Linked DNA regions of Homo sapiens: region 1 is linked to region 2. The links are contacts of gene promoters, found by promoter capture Hi-C in human tissues and cell types (Jung and others, 2019). All regions are on one chromosome and are shown on one strand. Each heading gives the region's core, a stretch centred on a gene start or on the middle of the fragment in contact. The rest is flanking DNA. Distances are from core to core; before and after follow the strand shown. Region 1 holds the start of MGA (MAX dimerization protein MGA). Region 2 holds the start of JMJD7 (jumonji domain containing 7).

Evidence for each region. Contacts are between HindIII fragments. The study calls those that stand out against the background at their distance.
Region 1: a contact is called between a fragment that was not itself captured here and the fragment with the promoter of JMJD7 in region 2, in 1 of the 25 tissues and cell types used here (dorsolateral prefrontal cortex).

Annotation. Positions count from the first base shown.
Region 1 is chr15:41,657,046-41,664,491 of GRCh38, reverse strand. It overlaps MGA (MAX dimerization protein MGA), which reads right to left and starts at 4,087. Exons shown (of 24, transcript NM_001400225.1): 1 at 3,967-4,087. The HindIII fragment of the contact is 3,273 bases long and covers 1-2,933 here.
Region 2 is chr15:41,822,676-41,829,415 of GRCh38, reverse strand. JMJD7 (jumonji domain containing 7) reads right to left here and starts at 1,324. Exons shown (of 8, transcript NM_001114632.2): 1 at 1,228-1,324. The coding sequence starts at 1,291. MAPKBP1 (mitogen-activated protein kinase binding protein 1) reads right to left here. Exons shown (of 31, transcript NM_014994.3): 27 at 6,739-6,740; 28 at 6,194-6,477; 29 at 5,355-5,969; 30 at 4,847-4,932; 31 at 1,561-4,207. The coding sequence ends at 3,980. It overlaps JMJD7-PLA2G4B (JMJD7-PLA2G4B readthrough), which reads right to left and starts at 1,324. Exons shown (of 25, transcript NM_005090.4): 1 at 1,228-1,324. The coding sequence starts at 1,291. RefSeq lists a silencer at 1,347-1,436 and enhancers at 1,171-1,465, 1,497-1,726, 2,772-3,654. The HindIII fragment of the contact is 30,158 bases long and covers 1-6,740 here.

The DNA.
Region 1 (7,446 bases), core at 48-2,547, 160 kb after region 2:
CATCTTTCTATAAACTAAAATTTTGGTTTTCAGATCATTACCAGTAAAACCAAGACAGAGAAGTTTTAACCAATTCTTTAAAAATTACTGTCTTTTAAAGATTAATCTATGAAATGTCAAAGATGCAGTTGACAAAAACCCAGTTTGGTGAAAATCAGACTGCACTTGAAGTAAATTTTACACTAACTTTATATACACACACTGAGTTTTTCTTTCTGCCGAAGCAAAATATTAGTGCAGAGAAGTCATATCAACCTATTTCAACTTTGTGCACAGGCATATAATAAAAAAATGTAAAAATGTGCCTGAAGACAGGAAAATAAACTTCTGACTTATGATTTGTATAAGGCCGGTTTTTTAACTCCACTAATCAAATTAATCCATTAGTTGATGAAAATGCATTGAATTAAAGACTTAATTTATGACTAAAACCATCTCTATCTTGAGCCATAACAGCTACTGGTTTAAGAACATGGAATGAAATTCTTATTCTACATCAATCTAGGCACAGATTCCACTTCGCTATAAGCATATGCCTAGGTTTGGAGCTACCATATGAATTTTCTTTTTTTTCTAAGATAAATATTGTAAAACATTTGAATTTTCTAATCAAAGGGCAGTCAATTAAGGATATTCAGCTGTTTCAGACACACCAAGACCACTCTAAAGTCTACTTAAGCCAACCGCAAAACTCAAATGTACTTTAGAAAGGGGTAGGCTAGGCCGGGAGCGGTGGCTCGCGCTTGTAATCCCAGCACTTTGAGGGGCTGAGGCGGGCGAATCACCTGATGTCAGGAGTTCAAGATCAGCCTGGCCAACATGACAAAACCCTCTCTCTACAAAAAATACAAAAAATTAGCCGGGCGTCGTGTTGCGCACCTGTAGTCCCAGCTACTCGGGAGGATGAGGCAGGAGGTTGCAATGAGCCGAGATAGCACCACTGCATTCTAGCCTTGGAGATAGTGTGAGACTCGGTCTCAAAATAATAACAACAACAACAACAACAATAATAATAATAAAGAAAAGAAAAGGGTAGGCTACTCATGAAGAAATAAATCTTCTAGCAACATCCTAAAAATACTCTGGGAAACTAAAAGCTTTAATGAAAACCACAATTTTGGTATATATATACCTTAACATTCAAAAACTTTCAATTCGGCTTTTCAACATCAAATTTTTTTTTTATCTAGATAAAATAGCTACAATAAAAAGCCAACAAAATAAGTTGTGGAGGGGAAAATTCAGTAACACTCTGAAATGTCACACCAGAAGACATATACACACACAAAAGCTATCATAGAAAACATTTTTTAGGTAAGTAATCTAACAAGTTCCATAAATTGTTACAATTTCAGACTCCCTATTTTAATGTCTTTTCACCAGTGACCTCTTTGGGAAATGTTTATCTACTAAAGCAATGATCCTCATACAACTCACAAAATACACTAGTTTTACTAGATAGTTTCCTAATTCAATGATTAATGTACTGTGCTCAACCCCAAAAATTAGTTACACAAAATCAAAATTCCAAGTCAATACCATTATTTAAAAACACAAATATTCAAATGCTAAGCAACACATTCTGAACGTTTTCCAAATTGCTACAAACTTCTACAACCTTTCATACAATAAATACAGTAGTATGGCAGGCACCAAGATGTTAGTATATTCCTTAATATGATCCTTCACTATAAGAATATGGTTAAATTACATTTGTGAAACTCAAATTTCAAGAGAACAGGTTCACTCAGATTTCAGTATTTAGCCAATAAACACTGGGTCAAGAAATTTTAAGTTTCTTAAAAACAGAATGTGGATATAAATATAATAAAATGAAAGCAAATGGTGGCAAAGACAGTAAAATAGCCAACTATTAATACTTTCTTAATCGCTCTTAACCATCATTTGCTTATTTTTACTAATTTAATAAATGGTACTTGCCATTTATTAAGAACTACTCACTTCGGAACAGACAATATCCTGGGCATTTTATCGTCACAACCTTATAGGGCAAATGTCAAAATATTATCTGAAACACTTTTAGGTTTTAAGGCACAGAATTGCACCTGCGTAAGAGAGTACTGCCTCCTTCTCTTCCCAGATATCATTTGTTACTGCTAGCCGCAGGAGTATTTTTTATTCCTAAGAATGGACCCTAACTACAACTCAGGGCCAGAAAGCTGACAGGTCTCTAGCAGTTGGGTAAGCAGAATTTGAAGAACTTTTAAGGCAGAAACTGGCAGTAGTCAAACTTGAAGTAAGTATGCCAAGGTACCCAGGGCACTGAATTTCCTCAAGTCTTTAGCCTGTGTTTTCTGTAAAGTGGACCCAACCCACTTAACCCACACAAACGCTAGAAACAACCGTTGGCGGCAAGAAACACTAGCGCTGTTCCGATACGCAGGAAAGTAAAAGGCTCGGTCTCACTGCCTTCCCCGAGAGGAGCAGACGCCGTCGACTATTAATGACCCACAAACCGCCGCTTTTCAACTGCAAAGGACAGCTGGCCAAGAACCACGTGAAAAAATGCCGCAAGGAAAGCTCTTCCGGGGAAGAGTCCCGACAGATCACGTGCCGCCGGCCGGAACCCGATGATCGCTCTGCGGGACCCAGCCGCGTTCTGTTACCTTGGAGACTACAGAACCAGCCACCAGACCCTCCCCTGCCAACCCCCTTCCCAGCAGCCGTCACGCCGCCCCCAGGCACTTTCCCTGCAGCCTAGCCGCGGCATCGTGCCCAAAAAGAACGAACAGAGCAAGCAGTTGTTAACCAGGGACTCAGCCGCATAAGCCTGGCAAGCTCTACAACAACACGCGCGGGTGGGCTCGAGACTTCTCATGATCCACGTGTTTGCTCCGGCGAGGCGAACCTTGGGAAAGTTATCTTCCCAATAAAAGAGTGCACTTTGGTTTCTCGTGTTGGTCTGCCATCAGTAACCCCTCCTTTCAGACCTCATTTACCCGTTCCTGCTTCCACCCCGGCCAGAGAAAGAAGGCATTCCCAGGGTTCGAAAGGCAAGGCAAAAATCTGTACAGCAAGACACTACCACTTTTGCACTCCCGACCCAGTCTGAAACGATCCCTAGTTTCCCCATATTCTTCTGACACATAGATCCCTCAACTTTGGCTACTGGAGCTTTGGGGGGGCGGTGGGGGGGTGATGTTAATGTCCCAGATACCTTGCACTGAGGGCAGAGACCTACTTGACCATTTAACAGAAACGGGAAACCCCATAAACAGAACTAGGTAAAAGGCTGCCCCACAGAGGAATAAAGAAAATAACACCTGCTCTTCCCACCTGTTTTCCCCTCCCTCATTTCTGCACTTACACACCACCGGTCCTTTGTTTACCAAGTCCCCACTCCTACAGCTCACTTCCTCGCCCTCCTTTATTAAACTTGACGTCCTGCCTCAAACAATTTGGCCGGAAATTACTTGTTAGAAAAGACGTTTGCACAGGTGTCAAAACGCTGCGCCAAGTTCTCAGAAAAGCGACGCCGACACCGTTTCCCTTGGAGTTCTAGAACCACGAGACCTAGGCTCTAAACTGAAAAGCGCGTAAGCGTGGCTCTCGACCTAGAGCCCGGCGCCGGGCGAGAAGTCGTCACGCGGACCGTACCACGCGGAGCGGCACCCCACACACGCGAGGGCAGGGCCGAGCCATGGGCGCTTCTCACCCCTCCCGCCTCGTGGCCGCTCTCTCTGGCGTCGATGTTCCCAGTTAGGTAGCTGAGCGACGCGGAAGTGAGGCCGGGGACGCGCGCGAGGTGACATGCGCAGCCTCGCTCAGGGACCACAGGGGCGCGCCAAAGGCGGCCCTGCGCAAGGCCCGGCCTGGCGAGGGCGTGCGAAGCTCTCTCAGCGGAACGTTTCTCACGCCGTTCAAATACACAAGAGCTTCAAACTCTCGAAAAACTCCAATCGGGCCAGTACTAAGCGATGCCCTCCACCCAGGCCCGAGAGTTACCGTGCGGGGCGTGGCCGGCCTCACCCGGAGTCCTTCACATCCCGCTGGGGGCGGGTTATTCTGTTCGGTTCGCACACCGTGTGTCCGCTCCAGCTGAAGAGCCTGCGCGCGCGCACCGGACGTCCACGTCACCGCGCACGCGCTCCTACCCGCTCGGAGCCCGCCGCGCAGGCGCAAAAGGAGACGCGAGCAGCACCTCCCTGACCCCTCCCCCAACACCAGGAGTCCAAACGGCCCCAGAGCAGCAGCAAGACCCTTGGGACCCGCCCCCCGAGTGGAAGCCGCTGCTTTTCCGGGTCCCTGCAACCCAGAAAAGCCTACTGAAGGTTCTAGAACCAAGAAAGGCGAGGCAGGAGGGAGGCACCTAAACTCCTCAGGCTTGCACACGAAGCCTTCGTGGAAACTGTGAAACCAATGCCCGGCGGGCCTTTCTCAACTGTGCCTTTCACCCTTTCCCTAGGGCTCCTCGCCGGCTCCGCCCCGGCCGCGCCCAGCCCCACCCACACGGGGCTCCGCAGACCCCCAACCTCCACAAGCCCGTCAAATGAATCTGAGGTCTTCCACCCCGGAGTACCGGGGCTTGGACAGCTCCAGAGCATTGGGAAACCTTGAAGCCAAAGACCTTGAGAGACGGATGGTCGAGTTTACAACATCCACAACCGAAGACGACTAGGAAAATGGGGAGGAGACCGAAAGACTCAGTGCGCAGTTGGAAAGCGAAGAGTTGCCACTAAATTGCCGGATATAAAGATGAAAGATATCTTGATAAAACAGGGAAACGATGCAGGAGTGTGTTATCTAAGCTTTAGTGCCTTGATCCTGTGCATTCAATTTTTGTTTCTTCAAGACATTTAAGCTATGAGGTGCAAAGAAAGTATTAGTGAATATCTATTATGTGTCAGGCAGTTGCTGAAGTAAATCAATGGACAGTATTTCTCCTAACCTTCAAAAAGTAGTTTTCTTTCTCCTTCTCTACTCCTTACCAGCTGTTCTTTCTTCTGTGCTCCTGACACCAGTAAAAAGGAAGCGTAGTTTCTTAAAAGGCAAAAAAGAAGTAGGGAGTAGGAGAGCAGATTTTGTGGTCAATGATCCAAAACTGCCTTCTTTGATAAGAATTAGCAAGCACTGAGAACCTACTACGTGACATGCTATGTGACAATACAAAACACTATGAAGGAGAATGAGAAGACTAAGGAAGGAGTCAACAGAAGGAGGCTTATCCAACACTACTGATCTGACCTACTTTTTACTTAGGAAGGTCATATTTCTCTACACTTTGCTCTTCCTGAGGAGATATACAACAACATTGACAGAAACTGCTGGAATAGTCTGAACTAGAAAACGTGTAGGCTACTTTAGAGACTTCTGAAGGCATTCTGAAACCCCAAGTCAGGCACGGTCAGCAAGAGCATTCAAGATCCTAGGCAAAATTGAAAAGTAACAGTTTAACACCTTCCTCCTCTTCCCTGAACCCAAGAACTTCTTTCCTACAAGCTGCCCTGTCAGAATCTCCCACCTTACCAAGAATGCCTTCCTCTCAAGGATCTGAGGTTTCCTCATAAAAATTTTCCATTTTCTGGGGAAGAAGTAAATTTATGTTGATTTAGCATTAAAATATATGATCATAAGGTGTGAATGACTGGTTAACAACCATGCATCCCCAAAGAGACAAGTTAACCCAAATGATCTCTCTAACTGGGGGATCTGTGAGGACAACTTGGGAAGAAGGGGAATGGAGATTCTCTTTTGGTACTCCTTCCCTACACCAGGCAAACATATAACTAAATACTAGATACTTTAAAAAAACAAAACAAAAAAAAAACGCTGAACTTTGAAGATTCAGTACTACAGATCTCGGTGGGAGAGGAAAACTATCCATAGTTTTTCAAAGTGGAGTCCGCCTAACCTAGAGAGGTCGGGAGATGTCAAGAATCTGAGGGTCCTATGAGAACTTTTAAGTGTTTTTAGATGATATTCTAAAAATAATCATACCACCACACACATTTCAGGGATCCAGTTTGGATTTACCATCATGCAGGTACCAAGTAACCGCTTGTTTTTCTTTTTTATTTTTTGTTTGCTTTGAGTAACCACTTAAATGGTTACATTCAACTTTTAATGCAGCATTCTCATACTAAAGTTCTTGGTTGTATACTTTGGATAATGTAAGAAATTTCCTCCTTTAAAAGGCATCCATATATAACCGAAGGTTTAAGAATGCCAAGCTAACTGCTAAAGTGATGCTCCTAAGTTCCACCTTTTTCAGTTATCATAGCTCAACTTATTGGTCCAGCCTAACACAAAAGTCTTTGCCTTGATTTTCCTAGACTGCACGTTCAAGTAGATTTTTCTGAATATTAAGGGGAAACAAACAAAAAACTAGAGAGAATGCATGCAATTAAACAGTCTGGCCTAGAATGTACACAGTTTTGATCCTAGATTGTTCTATAAACACATAGGCACTATCTCATTTACATGCACACTTTTCCTATTCAGCAAATATCTGAGTGCCTACTATATGCTGAGGATAGGGGAAAGGCTGGCACCCCATGCACTTTTCAGATGTCTACAGCAGAACCCCAAAGATTGGCACAACTTAAGTAACAGAATCCACCAAGACAAACTTCCTCATCCAATCTATTCAGATCCAATCCTTTCGGTTCTGATTTCTAAAACATCCTCTGTCAACTGACAAAAAGACCTCACTCTTCAGATGAAACCACTACCATGAACAAACTCCTGGACTATGGCCTTGTTTAAAATATCAATATAATAAAGAACATTCATAAAATAAGGGCTACATACAGACTGAGTTGCAAAAGATGCTTGTTTTTTTTTTTGTTTTGTTTTGTTTTTACAAAAAGTCCTTCGGCCAGGTGCGGTGGCTCAGTCCTGTAATCCTAGCACTTTGGGAGTCCGAGGCAGGCAGATTGCCTAAGGTCAGGGGTTCAAGACCAGTCTGGCCAACATGGTGAAACCCCGTCTCTACTAAAAATATAAAAAAATTAGCCGGGCATGGTGGCGTGCGCCCATAATCCCAGCCACACGGGAGGCTAAGGCAAGGGAATTGCTTGAACAAGGGAGGTGGAGGTTGCAGTGAGCCGAGATCGCGCCACCGCACTCCAGCCTGAACGACAGAGCAAGACTCCATCTCAAAAAAAAAAAAAAAAAAAAAAAAAAAAAAAAGGGCCTTCACTAGCCAACCTGAAAATTCAGGTCCTAGGCAGAGGGTAAAAAGAGAATCATAGACAACTCCATCCTTGCCCACCATTTAGTACTACAACTGAAATCAAGTCATGCTGGGGGGCAAAGTATGATTGCCACCAATATCTGTAATGAAGGAATTAAGGAATTAAAAATTAACGATTTAAGGAATTAAAAATGGCAAGATATCTGCCTTCAAGGAGCTAATAATGTACCCAAAGAGGAACTTTTAAGACTTTCTGGGCTGGGCGCAGTGGTTCACGCCTGTAATCCCAG
Region 2 (6,740 bases), core at 75-2,574:
TCTCTTGAACCTGGGAGGTCGAGGTGCAGCGAGCTATGATCGTGCCACTGCACTCCAGCCTGTGTGACAGAGTAAGACCCTGTCTCAAAAAATATAAAGTATTTAACCAACAAACATACTCACACATGCGCAGAAGACGCTGCTCCTGCAGACTGGCTTCTTCACTGTTTCCTAAACACATCAGGCATACTCCCAAAGAGGGCTTTGCCTGCACTTACCTTCTAACCTACTTCTTCTACTCTACAATGTACTCATTCAGTACACCTGTGGTTGATTGTCCACGTTCTCACTTAGAATGTAACAGGACATAGACTGTAAAAGACAGATTTGTTTTGTTCAGTGATGTATCTCAAACACACTGAACAGAGCCTGGCACACAGAGATGCTGAATAAGTATTTGTTAAATCAATCCTCAAAGTATTCGTTGCAGCATTATTGAAAACAACGGATTGGACATGACCTAAATGACTAAGTGAATACAGCACTAGCACACAGACGTGAAAAAGACTGAGGTAGAGGAATGTGAAATGATCTCCAAGATACACGGTGCAGAAGAGTGTGTTTAGCAGGCTACTATTTGTACAAAAAAAGGGTAAAAAGTCGTGTGTGCACGGATATAAACAATCTTTCTGTAAGAATGCAAACTGGGGCTGGGAGGAAACCTTGCTTCATTTACATTGCGTACCACTGTATATTACATACCCATCACATACACATGAGCCTGTGTTGCTGTTCAGTGGTAAGAAATCATTTAAAAATAGAAAAAAGAAGGAAGGAGGGAAGAGAGAAAGAAAGAAAAGGAATAAAAACCAAGCAGGGGAAGAGCCAGGGACCATTTGGTCAGCCTGCAATCCTCCCAAAGTGCGACAAGGGAGTTGAGGTCGGAGGTGGGGCGCGTGGGGGAGGAATCCGACCACCAGCTGTGTGCCTTCGATGAGCTTTCAACAAGGGTAACAGCAAGCTGCTCAAGACTGTAGGAAACACAGGGCTTCGCCGCGACCACGGTCAAGACGGCACCGGGCCTTGGGAACAACGTGAACAGAATCACCCAGGAAGCCGCGGGAGCGCGCGAACACGGGAGAAGGGAAGCAGGTTGCCACAGAAGAGCAACCCGAGCGGGGCCTCAGGGCAGTCGCACACACGAGGTTCCGAGCCCCCGGTGTCAGCGGCATCCCAGGGCCCCTCCCGTGTTCGGAAATCGCCGCAGCCTGTGGGAGAGCCACTCACCCCTTGCAGCGGCCGGGAATTCTCGTAACTCGCTCCGCACGGCTTCCAAAGCCGCCTCCGCCATGGCTGCGTCAGCGCCGGCCGAGACCCCGCCTTTCCCCGACGCCCCGCCGCAGGCCACACCCCAAGCACTCGCCCCGCCCTCCCCAGAGTCCCCGCCGCAGGCCACACCCCCAGACCCTCGCCCCGCCCTTCCAGAGGCACCCGCCGCAGGCCACACCCCCAGCACCCCGCCCCGTCCTGCCCCTGGACACACACCGGGTTCTGCCACCGAAGCGGTGGAGCGACTGGCAGCGCCCGCTTCGGCCTGCCCCACTGGCCGGCATCCCAGGGTTAACAAACAATTGTGTTTATTGACAAGTTCATACATCAGTACAAACGGGCACGTTAAAAACAGCGCCCCCGCCCCATGCAGCCGAGGATGAGGCAGGAAGCGCCGCGACCTGCACAAAGTATAAAAGTTATAAATAAGGGGCTTTCAAAACAAGGCGGGGGCAAATCTGGAGTGGGGCGGCGGTTGCCGGTGGCCTCAGACATGCAGAAGGGGACGGGGCGCCGGCCGGGCCACGAGGCCCCCCACCCACATGGGGCAGAGGGCAGGAAAAGGGCGGCCACATTCTCACAAACTTCTGGCGAAGGGTAGCTCCCTCCTCGTGAAGGACCTGGCCCAGAGGGCGAACCTGAGTCCCACCTGCGGTGGGCGCGGCTGGTGTGGGAAGTCGGGGCACAGCAGGCACGGGCCCGCCCCCGCCGCCGCGGGAGTTCCAGGGCCATGCGGGTGGCGATGCTAGAGGAGTGGGGAAGGGCCAGGTTTGGAGCAGCTCAAGCGCACTCAGGCTGATGCCCCGGAGCTGGGAACCTTTTGTAACCCTTTTTCTTTTTTTTTTTTGAGATGGCGTGTAGCTTTGTCACCTAGGTTGGAGTGCAATGGCGCGATCTCGGCTCACTGCAACCTCCACCTCCACCTCCAGGGTTCAAGCGATTCTCCTGCCTAAACCTCCCGAGTAGCTGGGATTACAGGCGCCCACCACCACGCCCAGCTAATTTTTTTATTTTTAGTAGACAGGGTTTCACCATGTTGGCCAGGCTGATCTCGAACTCCTAACCTCAGGTGATCCACCCGCCTCGGCCTCCCAAAGTGCTGGGATTACAGGCTTGAGCCACCACACCTGGCCCAGAACCCATTTCTTTATAAGCCTCTGCCTATGGCGCAGCAGGGCGGGTGAAGGGGCTCTCGTGGCCTGAAGCTGTGGTAAAGCTGCTCTGACTTACCTGCAGCAGAGGGGAGCAGTAGGGCCCAGAAAAACCTTTCCTCAACTCTTCAACTGCCTCACGACATGGTCCCACTCTACCTCCTAGGGTCCCCTATCTCCTTTCCCTCACCCCTAATTACTGCCCTTTTACATTCTAACTTATCCCCTCACCTCTGCCACTTACCTGTCCCATCTACCACTTTTCTAGTGTCTCCTTTGGCCCCAGCACCTCCCTCCTCTCAAACTCCAGTATCCAGCACACCCGTGGGTGCCCAGCACTGCCTTTGAGGAGGCTCCTTCTACCTAAACCAGGTGTCCTATGGGCTATCTCGTATCAGCTAGGCTGTGGACACCAAGAATCCAGAATCTGGGTTCACTTAGTGTACTGCACCCCTTTTCTGCTCCCTGATAGGTGTTCCACATAAGCCAGGGTGGTGAAGCTGAGGCAGGATGTGAGGAAACCAGGCACACAGCAGCCAGCCAGATACTCTAGCAACCAACACTCAACAGCGTGCTGTGCAGGTAGGTGTGTGTGTGTACATGTGTGCACGTGCATGCGTGTGATCTCATCTGTGGCTGAGGTCCTCAGGAGGTAGGCCAGCGCCCCGTAAACGAGGGATGTTCCAACACAGGCTTCTGACTAAGCATCATTCAGGATGCAGGGAGAAGGTGGCCTCTGGGCTCCAGCAGCCGGCTGGGGTCCAGGGTGGAGGACAGGGAAGAACAAGGGGCTGAGGAAAGGAGGCCAGAGCTTCATGTTTGCCCAGGTGAGGGCTTACTGTCCTGCAGCAACATCCCACAGCTGGCTCAAGTTCTGGCCAGGAGAGTAAGGGGTCACAGGGAAATACAATGCTGGGCCCCTCTTGGAGGGAGAATGGGAGTGGAATGTGCGGGCTCAGGTCCAAATACCAACTCAAGTCTCCTGATGGCTGGGGACACCCTGGAGGGCCAGATGGCTCTGCCTTTCTGAGCTCCAGGTATTGGGGAAAACCACCCTGCTCTGGCAGCCACGGGAGTGCAGCTGGTGTGAGAGGGGAAGTGCAGGTAGAGGTGAAGGCCCACAGTTGGCTGACGGGCACTGAATACCACATCACCTCTCACCTCGACCCCAGAGTACCCTGTGTATGCTCCACCACAGGGAGCTAATCCCTGCAGTAATTTCAAATGGCTTCTAAGAGAGGGCCAGCCCTTCCCAGATTCCTAGATGGGGCAGGCTGCCCTCCTACCTCTCACAGCACCAAGATGACAAAGACCCAAGACCTGTCCCTGCCACTGGAGGGGCTGTGGAGGCAGGAGTTCCAAGGAAGTGAGGCAACAGTCAGGGAAATAAATTAATAAATACAGGCCCCCCACGAGGAGCGGCTGGGAAGGCTGCTTTGCCTCTGAACACTGCTCCCTGCTTTCCACTCCAAGCAGCCCCGCAGGTTTTGGTGAGGGGCAGAGGGGCTGCAGTTTGGAATCGCTGGAGCATTCATTCACTTGGGACAGGCTTCCAGAACTCAGAGTTTGCGTTCCATACGCCGTTCCACGGCTCGAAGCAACAGTTCTGAGTATTGCTCCAGCAGGGCCTGTGTCTGCTCGGCTCCCACAGCCCCAGGGCTGCTGCCTGGGCTGGACAGCACTGCCCCAGCCACAGCTTCCAGCTCCTGTCGCACTGAAGAGAAGGTGTCTCTGAGGAGCTGGGCAATCCGACTTTGCTCTGCTGAGGGCATCTTGCAGCCAGCCACCTGAAATAGCACCCCCAGAAGTGAGGTGGAGGAGCCTGTCAACAGACATATAAAAGGGAGGGGCCCCACCTGGGTCCAGCCTGCCTCAGAAGGGACTAGCTGGGAACTCTACCCGCCAAGATCAGCATGTATGGCCAGGGAACATGGGATGCAGGCAGACTCTGGGGGTGACGCCCAAGGAGGAACCCATTGGATTGCAGAACCGTCTACATCTTATAAGCAACTCCTTATGACAACTCCGGCAGAATCTGCTTTCTCTTTCAAAGTTTGGGCCTTCTTGGACTGTCCCCTATGTCTAAGGGGGCCAAATAATTCATGGATATGAAAAAGGATGCCATTAATAATTACACTGGGACAACGACATAAACTGGGATTGTCCTGAGCCAACTAGGAGGTGTGGTCTCTTCAGGCCTCACCTCCTGAGGGAAGTCTCCAGCTCTTAACCAGAAATGACCGCAGGTGCCCGGTACAAGAGGCTAGCCTGGCCTCTAACCCCCTCACCTATGCTGCCCAAGATGTTCTTGAGTGTGCCATCCTGTCAGCACAAGAGGCTTAGCATACTGTTCTGGACATGGTTATCCGAAACACCCAGCACTACTGACGTGCCCGCCTTCCTGCCGGGGGGCACCTAACACCCACCGAGTGGTAGAGCCGCACTGCCTGGCGCACGCTGCCGCGGAGCTCTGCCACCAGCTGCTCACACTGCTCCAGGCTCACCGCTGGCTCTGAAAGAGACGGATACAGCTCAGTGAGGCCCAGCATGTAGCCCTTTCAGGCCTCCGCACCCAAGACACTCAGAACAGGAGAGACCTAGCCCTCAGCATTGCACCCCCCACTTGCCCTCAGTCCCTTCCTCTTGGCTTCTCTTCCAACGGCCTCCCCAACACCACACAAACAAGGTCCAGAGGAGACGGCCAGCCCCAAGTTCAGAAGCCACTGAATGGGCAAGTGAGTCACAAGGAAATCATGAAGGTTAGCAGGAGGGTCTCACCATCAGGGGTGTGACTTACGGACCTGCGACAGGAGCAGACAGGACAAGAAACACCAGAAGCTGTACCCACAGAAATGGGATGGAGCCAGACAGCGGCCAACAGAGAGGGGAGAGTAAGGATGGGGCAGGAGATGAGAGCTGGGGAGCTGTGCACACCTGAGTCCTGGCTCAGGGCTGCCCCTGGCTTGGTGCATTCCATGGGGTTGGGAGTCTTCTCAGGGGGTGGGGGCTGCAAGTTTTCAGGGCCTTGGAAGAGGCTGCTGACTGGCAGTTGCTGGGCACAGGGGCTGCTGGGCCCAGGATGAGCCTGGCACTCTGTCCTAGGCTTGGGAGTGGTGCCCTCCCCCAAACAGGCCCATCTCTCAGTTGTACTGTGAGCTTTTCCTAGGCCCACCGGGAAGCCAGGCTTTTCTGCCTCGCCAGGGGCCCGGCCTTTGGTGACAGGAGAGAATGCAGCCAGGGTAGGACGGTCAGGCAGTGGTTTGGGGATGTCCAGGACCAGGTGAGCCCGGCTGGGCAGGGCCAGCTTGCTGAGTGGTGAGACTCGGATGGGGGCATGAGCTTGAGGTTCAGCCACCAGGCCCAGGTTCTCCCCAACAGAGATACTGCGGGATATCTTGGCCATGGAACTGGTGGTGGGGTTCTGATAGGAGTGAGGCCGAGACGGACGGCCATCAGCTGGGGGCAGGGAGCCCAGACCATCCTGAGCTTCGATCTCCCGAGACAGCAGTGCGCCTGGTGAAGGGGCCTGCAGACTGGCCTCATGTCTTTCTGCAAAGGAGACAGAGGTATACACAGGTCAGGTGTTGAGGAAGGCATCCCAGGTGCCAACACCCAATCCCGAAGAGCTGCTGTTCCCCTCCACATGCCCATTAAGGGACACCTAGTGGCCAGCACAGTGGCACATCAGGGCCACACCAGGCCCTCCCTCCTCCAGCATGTACATGTGTTCCATACACCCTGCACCCTGGCACTGAACCCATCAGGCTTCTCACCCTGTGGCACCAGACTGTGCACAGACTGGGCCTTCTGGAGTCCAGAAAAGGGGCTGGCTGTGGCCACTCTCTTGGGAGCCCAGCTGCTGTCAGGGTTGAGACGGCATCGTGGCAACAGCACAGAGGCTGCCTGCTGGGGGCTGGGGTTGCCAGAGGACGGTTCCACCTCCGGGGGTGCTCCAGGGGGATTGGCACCATTGCCTCTCGGCTGCTCACCAGATGCCTGTGGCACCTGGGCTGGTCTCGACATCAGTGCCAGGCTTGAGGAGGATGGGGATGGTTCCCTACAGGGAGAACATGTGGGAGAAGGCCCAGAGAAGGCTCAATGCTCCTCCCTGCCAAAATGGCGAGAAACTCATAGCACCAGGGCACTAGGAGAGAACAAGCACAAAGCCAGATAGGGCTGGGGAAAGGCCAGTTAGCCCAAAACTGGGAGTGCAAAACACCCCGCGCATGGAGAGACAGAACACTGGAGAGGAGAGGGCAGCAGCCCTGGGAGGCGAGGAGAGCCAGAGCTGCTGCTGGGGGGTAGGGGGCCTCTGTACCT